Regions from separate parts of the Homo sapiens genome. Here regions 1 and 3 are each linked to region 2. Evidence: promoter capture Hi-C in 16 types of primary human blood cells and fetal thymus (Javierre and others, 2016). All regions are on one chromosome and are shown on one strand. Each heading gives the region's core, a stretch centred on a gene start or on the middle of the fragment in contact. The rest is flanking DNA. Distances are from core to core; before and after follow the strand shown.

Evidence for each region. Contacts are between HindIII fragments. The CHiCAGO score rates a contact against its expected background, and 5 or more counts as called.
Region 1: a fragment that was not itself captured here is called in contact with the fragment with the promoter of TARBP1 in region 2 in 3 of 17 cell types (total CD4 T cells, activated CD4 T cells and naive CD4 T cells); the score reaches 5.7 in total CD4 T cells.
Region 3: a fragment that was not itself captured here is called in contact with the fragment with the promoter of TARBP1 in region 2 in 1 of 17 cell types (naive B cells); the score reaches 5.0 in naive B cells.

What each region holds. Positions count from the first base shown.
Region 1 is chr1:235,145,671-235,148,729 of GRCh38, reverse strand. It overlaps RBM34 (RNA binding motif protein 34), which reads left to right. Exons shown (of 11, transcript NM_015014.4): 6 at 283-326. Among named protein-coding and RNA genes, the nearest start is that of RBM34, 14 kb to the left of the region's middle. RefSeq lists an enhancer at 1,109-1,168. The HindIII fragment of the contact is 1,157 bases long and covers 1,030-2,186 here.
Region 2 is chr1:234,477,864-234,480,823 of GRCh38, reverse strand. It overlaps TARBP1 (tRNA guanosine 2 -O-methyltransferase TARBP1), which reads left to right and starts at 1,645. Exons shown (of 30, transcript NM_005646.4): 1 at 1,645-2,651. The coding sequence starts at 1,721. RefSeq lists silencers at 1,529-1,718, 1,749-2,548. The HindIII fragment of the contact is 13,603 bases long and covers 1-2,960 here.
Region 3 is chr1:235,161,749-235,164,572 of GRCh38, reverse strand. No RefSeq gene overlaps it. Among named protein-coding and RNA genes, the nearest start is that of RBM34, 1.9 kb to the right of the region's middle. The HindIII fragment of the contact is 183 bases long and covers 1,224-1,406 here.

The DNA of each region.
Region 1 (3,059 bases), core at 359-2,858, 670 kb before region 2:
CTACTCAGGAGGCTGAGGCAGGAGAATGTTGTGAACCCAGCAGGTGGAGCTTGCAATGAGCCGACATCATGCCACTGCACTCCAGCCTGGGTGACAGTGTGAGACTCCATCTCAACAGGAAAAAAAAAAAAAAATTAGGACAGTTGTTTCTGATTTGTTTATTTCCCTAGAATGTTTTTGATCACAGTGTACTGGAGTTAGATACTTAGACTTCACTTAAAATATTAATTTGAGGTAATACTTCAAATACTGTCTTTAATACTTTTTTTTTTCTCTTGAAAGATTCCAGCAGAGGGAACGCTATCCAAAAAGTTGGCAGCAATAAAGTAAGTTTATAATTAGAGAAAGGGAGTCACCTTAAACTTTCTTCCTTTTTGGCTAAAAAGTGAGACCATTTCTTAACAATTGCATAGATTTTATTAATATATTTGGATAATAGAGCATGATTGACTGTTTGCTTCTGTATTTGAGAGCCTTTAGATTTGTCACGTTTTTCTTTAAGCCATAATATAATTTACAGAGTCGTAGAAAATATTACTGGAAAATGAGCCATGAGAAATTTTAAGAATGTTTTTAGTGTTTGGAAGAGAGTGTAAAGCTTCATGCCTAAATTTTCTCATACAGATTACAAATGCCATATTTCCTGTGTTTTTCCAGAGAGAATTCATGTTTGCTTGTGCTGGTCACCTGGGTATACTGCCAGCCTGTGACCACTTGGCGTTCTCTGTTTGAGGGTTTTGGACCACACTGGTGGTGGCTTGTTACCAGTGCTCAGGGGATTTTTTTTGTTTCCCACTCAGTGTCAAGAATGAAACCTACAAGTCTCCTTGTTCGCCCTTCCATATGGAAGGCTTATTTTTCATTTACCTTCAGCTTTATGCCGGTTTCCTATTAGTCTCATATCTTGGGTGTTTTTCTCTCTTAATGGTATATGAAATGATGAAGTTTATAAGCAGATATTTCTTTATATTAGATAAAATATAATAATGTACTTTAGAAACATTTCTGGGAATCCTGTTCTATCAAGCTTTTGTATGGCAACAGTCCCTTTGGACATCTTGGTGACTTCATTTCAATATTGAGTCTTCATTTGGAGTTATTTGGCCGACCAGGTCTTCGCCGGTTTTTCCTCATAACCATCACAGTGCCAGGTGTATAGTTAAGAGTTGATAAATATATAGATTCCCACAGTGTTTGCTGAGGTAACCAAAGATGCAGATCCTCCTAGATACCAGGCATTGTTCAGTGCTGTGGTGACTAGAAACCTTAGTAAGATACAACCCTTCTTTTTGAGTCATACTTTTATTTCTGTATGAAGTTGAAACCCAGGAGCCTAAATTTGAACAGAAACAGAGGTTCTGACAGGTGTATGTACAAGTACTACTGAGGAGTTTAGTGGGATATGTTAGAAAATTGGAATTTTCACACCATACCGTCAGCTTCTCCTCCAGCCCCATCTCATTGTTTTTTTGTTTCTTTGTTTTGTTTTGTGTTTTTAACATACAAGCTCTTGCTCTGTCACCCAGGCTGGAGTGCAGTGGCAAGATCTTGGCTCACTGTAGCCTTAAACTTTTGGGCTCAAGTGATGCTTCCATCTCAGTGTCCCCAGTAGCTGGGACTACAGGTGTGCACACCACCCTGGCTAATTTATTTTATTTTATTGTAGACACAGAGTCTCATTATGTTTTTCAGGCTGGTCTTGAACCCCGGGCTTCAAGCAATCCTTCTGCCTCAGCCTTCTAAAGCAGTGGGATTATGAGCATGAGCCACTGCCTTTTTGTTGTTGTTTTTAATTTAAAATTTAATGATGGCTGGCTGTGGTGGCTCACACCTGTAATCCCAGCACTTTGGGAGGCCGAGGTAGGTGGATCACTTCAGGCCAGGAGTTTGAGACCAGCCTGGCCAACATGGCAAAACACTGTCCCTACTAAAAATAGAAAAATTAGCAGGGTGTGGTGGCACATGCCTGTAGTCCCAGCTACTTGGGAGGCTGAGGCAAGAGAATCGCTTGATCCCAGGAGATGAAGGTTGCAGTGAGCCCAGATCACGCCATTGCACTCCAGCCTTGGTGACAGAGCTAGACTCTGTCTCAAAATAAATAAATAAATAAAATTTAATTATACACCTTTTCTCTAGTCAGCCAATTCCCTACCCTAGGCAAGTGTTTTTAGTTTCTTATGTAAGCTTCTAGAGACATCTTAGCATTTAAAAACTGATACGCATAGATGTTCTTCTTCCCACATAAAACAGTTTAACTCACTGGTATTTAATATATGCACTACTCCACACCTTCCCTTTTTCTGCTTAGTACAACTTGGAGATCTGTTTATATTGGTGTGAAAGTGATTATTTTTATAGCATTTTTTAAAAATGCCCTTTTTCTTAGAGTATTCTCTAGGTGTGCCTTAATTTATTTTATCAAATCTCCCACTGATGGACATAAAGTTTTTTCCCAGTCTCATGACCATTACAAATAATGCTGAAGGCCGGGTGCAGTGGCTCACGCCTGTAATCTCAGCACCATTAGAGGCCAAGGTGGGCAGATCGCTTGAGCCCAGGACCTCCCTGGGCAAAATGGCAAAACCCCATCTCTACAAAAAATTAGCTGGGCATGATGCTGTGCACTGTAGTCCCAGCTGCTTGGGAATCAGACGAAGGAGCACCTGAGCTCAGGAAGTGGAGCTATGATTGCACCCCTGGCACTCCAGCCCGGGTGATAGAGTGAGACCCTGTCTTCCAAAAAAAAAAAAAAAAAAAAAAAAACCTGCTGTAATATTTTAGCTGGTCATGGAGGCACGTGTCTGTAGTCCCAGCTACTTGGGAAGCTGACGTGAGATGATCACTTGAGCCCAGGAGCTTGAGGCTTCAGTGAACTGTGATCACACCACTGCACTGTAGCCTGAGCGACAAGCAAGACCCGCTCTCTCAAAACAAAACAAATAATGTTGGAGTAAATGAGTGACCTTGTACTTAGGTAATTTTGTACATAAGCTAAACTTATCTGTAGGATAAACTTCTAGCAGTGGCATTGCTCAGTCAGAAGGGTATTTGCATTCACA
Region 2 (2,960 bases), core at 396-2,895:
CCAGTAATGTATGAGAATTCCAGTTGCTCCACACCCTTGGTCTTTGCCGTTTAGTGTTTTCGAGCTTTTACATGTTAGCCATTCTCATCAGTATGAAGTGGTACCTCATTGTGGGTTTAATTTGCATTTCTCTGATGACTAATGATGTTGAACACTTTTCCAAGTGCTTATCATTTGTGTATCTTCGTTTGTTAAGTGCTCAAGACATTTACCCATTTATATTTGTTAGATATATGTTGACAGAAACAATAGTTTTCTGCACATTTTATGTTGAAGGTAATTGATATTTACTGACATGTTAAAAGGGCTTAAAATAGAAACATTTATGCATTTTGTCAATGAAAAACGGAATGACTGAAATATGAAAAAAGTCTTGCCTGTGTAATGTCAGATAACCTTAAAGTCAGATAACTTTATATAAAAATAACTGTAAATTTAAATAACTAATTTTTGTCTTATCCATTATGTTATTATATGTCAAGCTCTTTGAAGTTGGGACCCTGTTTTCTCTATTGACTAAGAGGCAGATCTTTGTGTTTAGTAGCGAAGAAAACCCTATGTCACTGATCTAGTTTGTCTCAAATTGAGCCAGGAACCAAATCCACACCATGCATGCCGAGGTGAGGTTTTCTGTTTCTCTATTTAGCAATGGATGCTGTCAGAAATACAGAAAAGACAGACACAGGGACTATTTTTGAGTTTGCACATGGGAGCACATGCATTGTGCAGGAGGCTCTGCATCCTGGAGTCATCTTGGGCACTTGGCTGTGAGGGCTGGCGTGGGCATCTTGGTTTTAGCTGAATCCTAGCACATTGCTATAGGTACCTCTAAGGCAGGAGAATAGGGCCTGGAGGCAGGGAATCCAAAAACTCCCTAGAACCAAATCAGATAGAAACACTTCAGCTATGACAGGAAATATCCTCTTCATTTACATAGGGAGTACACCAAGTAAATAACTTTGTAACTTCATTTTATCCTCTTCAGTTACATAGTGTGTACACCAAGTAACCAATTGAAACCTCTATAGGTATTTAAACCCCAGAAAATTCTGTAACCAGCCCCCCTTGAGCGGCTTGCTTGGGTCTGCCCCCACCCTGTGGAGTGTACTTTTGCAATAAATCTCTGCTTTTGTGGCTTCATTCTGTCTTTGCTTTGTTTGTGCGCTTTGTCCAATTCTTGGACCTGGACACCCTCCACCGGTAACACTTCTCACTCCTGGCCTTACGTCTAAATCATTCTTGTGTTTTCATGACTTATTTTTAATGCAGATGTCCAGAACCAATTTCAGACCTACTGTGTCAGTCTCTTTGTGGATGGTGCCCATCATGCAACGTTTGGAAAATAATCTAAAGTGATTCTGCTGTGCACCTTCTGTGAACTGGTTTATGCTCACAGGCACGCCTGATTTAGGGTCCTGGGCAGACCAACCTCCAATCAGGAATCGATGAAGCTGGTGTAGATACTACATTAACTTTTAACGAAGGCCTCGTTTCTCCTAAAAATAAGAGACCAGGTGGGTTCTATCTAGGCAGGGTTGGTGGCAGGAACCCAAGGGAAGCTGAGCTGCACCAAGCCGGGCTGGGATCCCCCTCTCTGCGGCCGCGCGCCCGGCTCCGTCGGCGCACGCGCACGTAGGGGCCGGCCGGTCCTGTGCGCACGCATCGCACACGCCGGCGCCTTCCTTTGGGAGCCCGGGCCGGTGGCGCGGGCGCTCGGCAAATGGAGTGGGTGCTCGCGGAAGCGCTGCTCTCGCAGAGCCGGGACCCCCGGGCCCTGCTTGGGGCGCTGTGCCAAGGGGAGGCATCCGCGGAGCGCGTGGAGACGCTGCGCTTCCTTCTGCAGCGGCTCGAGGACGAGGAGGCGCGCGGCAGCGGGGGCGCAGGCGCGCTCCCGGAGGCGGCGCGCGAGGTGGCTGCAGGGTACCTCGTGCCACTGCTGCGGAGCCTGCGCGGACGCCCCGCGGGCGGCCCGGACCCCAGTCTGCAGCCTCGCCACCGCCGGCGCGTGCTGAGGGCGGCGGGCGCGGCCCTGCGCTCGTGCGTCCGCCTGGCCGGGCGTCCGCAGCTGGCGGCCGCGCTGGCTGAGGAGGCGCTGCGCGATCTGCTCGCCGGGTGGCGCGCGCCTGGCGCCGAGGCTGCCGTGGAAGTGCTAGCAGCCGTCGGGCCATGTTTGCGGCCCCGCGAGGACGGGCCGCTACTGGAGCGCGTGGCGGGGACCGCCGTCGCCCTGGCGCTGGGCGGGGGCGGGGACGGGGATGAGGCCGGGCCTGCCGAGGACGCGGCGGCGCTGGTGGCCGGGCGACTGCTGCCAGTGCTGGTCCAATGTGGCGGGGCGGCGCTGCGGGCCGTGTGGGGCGGGCTGGCCGCGCCTGGGGCGTCCCTGGGGTCCGGCCGCGTAGAGGAGAAGCTGCTGGTCCTGAGCGCCCTGGCCGAGAAGCTGTTGCCCGAGCCCGGCGGCGACCGCGCCCGCGGCGCGCGCGAGGCGGGCCCGGACGCCCGGCGCTGCTGGCGCTTCTGGAGGACGGTGCAGGCGGGGCTGGGCCAGGCGGACGCCCTGACGCGCAAGCGAGCGCGCTACCTGCTGCAGAGGGCGGTGGAGGTGTCGGCGGAGCTGGGGGCCGACTGCACCTGCGGGCCCCAGGAAGGAAACGGTACCTGCCTCTTTGCCCCCCAGCCTAGTGCTACCTACTTGGCTGCCCCAGAGGGGAGTCTTCCTGCTTCTAAAAACTAGCTTATCGGGGTCGTCACTCCGATCCATGCAGAATTTGGTTATTCCGCGTTGCTCCCCTAAAGCCTGAAAACCTTTGGAACCCCTTCTCGAGGGTGTTCTTTGAAGTCACAAATCACTGCGGTTGGGAACGTTCTAACCCAGAGCCGGTGGAATACAGCACCCCTGGAATAGTTTAGGAAGATAATGGAGCCCGTGCAAGATTTTACAGACCCAAATCTGCACTATATCA
Region 3 (2,824 bases), core at 66-2,565, 680 kb before region 2:
TAATTTTTTGTATTTTTAGTAGAGAGGGGTGTTTCACCGTGTTAGTCAGGATGGTCTCGATCTCCTGACCTCGTAATCTGCCCGCCTTGACCTCACAAAGTGTTGGGATTACAGGCATGAGCCACCGCGCCCACCCAAGATGATACGTTTCTTAACGGTGTTCTCCAAAACGTTTTTTTTCCTACTGAAAAAACTTTAGAGTGGGGTCTTGTTAATTTCTTTTTTTTGTTTGTTTTGTTTTGTTTTAGACAGAATCTCGCTCTGTCGCCCAGGCTGGAGTATAATGGCGCCATCTTGGCTCACTGCAACCTCTGCCTCCCGGGTTCAAGTGGTTCTCCTGCATCAGCCTCCCGACTAGCTGGGATTACAGGCGCCCGCCACCATGCCTAGCTAATTTTTGTATTTTTAGTAGAGATGGGGTTTCACCATGTTGGCCAGGCTGATCTCAAACTTCTGACCTCAGATGATCCACCCACCTCGGCCTCCCAAAGCGCTGGGATTACAGGCGTAAGCCACCGCACCCGGCCTCCTTTTGTTTTTTTGAGACGGAGTTTCGCTCTTGTTGCCCAGGCTGGAGTGCAAATGGCGCAGTCGCTGATCTGAAACTCCTGGGCTTGCATTCCTTCCGTCTTGGTCTCCCAAAGTGCTGGGATTATAGGCGTGAGCCACCTTGTCCCACCATGTCCTCATATTTTAAAAAACTCTCAAAGCAGTAAGTGATCTCTAAATGGTTAAAAACAGCACTGAACAGCAATGAAGATAATTTTAAAACTATCTGCAACCACAGCTGCTTTCGCAGTCTGTTTTCTTCTATAAGTATCTGCTACCTAGCTGGGCACAGTGGGTCATACCTGTAATCCCAGCACGTTGGGAGGTCAAGGCGAGCGGATCACCTGAGGTCAGGAGTTCGAGACCAGCCCGACCAACATGGAGAAACCCTGTCTCTATTAAAAATATAAAATTAGCCAGGCATGGTGGTGCATGCCTGTAATCCCAACTACTCGGGAGGCTGAGGCAGGAGAATCGCTTGAACCTGGGAGGCGGAGGTTGCAATGAGCCAAGATCGTGCCACTGCACTCCAGCCTGGGCAACAAGAGTGAAACTCCGTCTCAAAAAATACACAGAATAGAATTCTATAATTCTAGAAATATAGAATATAATTTCTTCACTGGACTGGATAGAACAGATTTTTGAGTTGTATCGCATGCATGTATGGATAAGCTTTCTTCATCTTTGTGAAATACCAGAAGATCAAGATTATGGGAAACCAAAATAAGGGGCCCAGTAATCAAAACCCAGGGCCGAGCAGTTGAATATTGTGGATTTTTTTCATAAATTTCTCTGAAGGGGGAAGTAAAAGTCACATATATTCCCAGTCAACTTGGTTGAGTAGCTTTCAAAAAGCTTAGGCTGTCCCCAAAAGACTCAAAGTCAAATCCTGGCTGGATGCAGTGGCTCACGCCTGTAATTCCAACCCTTTGGGAGGCCAAGGCAGGAGGACTGCTCAAGCTCAGGAGTTCAAGACCGGCCTGGGAAACACAGTGAAACCCCAATCTCTATTTAAAAAAAAAAAAAAAAAAAAAGGCCAGGCGCGGTGGCTCACACCTGTACTCCCAGCACTTTGGGAGGCTGAGGTGGGCGGATCACAAGGTCAGGGGTTCGAGACCAGCCTGGCTAACATGGTGAAACCCGGTCTCTACTAAAAAAATACAAAAATTAGCTGGGCATGGTGGCATGCACCTGTAATCCCAGCTACTTGGGAGGCTGAGGCAGGAGACTCACTTGAACCCGGGAGGCGGAGGTTGCAGTGAGCTGAGATCGCGCCACTGCAGTCCAGCCTGGGCGACAGAGCGAGACTCTGTCTCCAAAAAAAAAAAAAAAATTAGCTGGGCATGGTGCTGCTGCTTGCAGTTCCAGCTACTCCGTGGTGGGAGGATGGCTTGAGCCCAGGAAGTCAAGGCTGCAGTGCGCCGTGATCTCACCACTACACTCCAGTCTGGGTGACAGAGCAACACCTTGTCTGAAAGAAAATAAGAACAAAGTCAAATCCTATTTTGCCACTCAAACTATTGGATGATTTAACTAGTAATCTTTTATTACCCTGAGAGTCAATTTAACAAATATTCACTATGTACAGCTAATAGAGACACAGCATACATGATGAATAAAACATAATCCTTACTGTCTTGCCTTTACATCTAAAGAGACTGTAACTAACACTAAAGCAGACCAAAAATGATTATAGTAAGTACCATGGGGGCTTGGGAAAATATCCCTATTGTAAATAGCAAAGAATTTTTTTTTTTTTTTTTTTGAGCCAGGGTCTGCCGCTTAGGCTGGAGTGTAGTGATGCGATCACAGCTTACTGCAGCCTCGACCTTCCAGGGCTCAAGGGATCCTCTTGCCCGAGCCTCTCAAAGTGCTGGGACTACAGGCGCCGAGCGCGAAGGTGCCCGTCTAATTTCTTTTCTGTAGAGAATAAGTCTCGCTAGATCGACCAGGCTGGTTCAAACTCCTAGTCCTCACGCAATCCTCCCACTTCGGCCTCCAAATGTGTTAGGATTACAGGCGAGCCACCGCACCTGGCTGCAAAGAAATACTAAGTTAGACAGTATCTGAGGTAGGCCTTGAAGGATGGACATTATTTTGCAGAAGGGGAAAGAGGAGGGCAATTACAACAGAGGGGACAGGAATAACAACTGTAGAGGCAGTGGAGAAAGCAGGCTAGAATGTCAGGGGCTGGAGGGAGATGAGTCTGGGAAGACGGGCTGAGAACACCTTGAAGCGTTTTGAATGCCAAGTATCTACTTTTCCAGGTAGAATA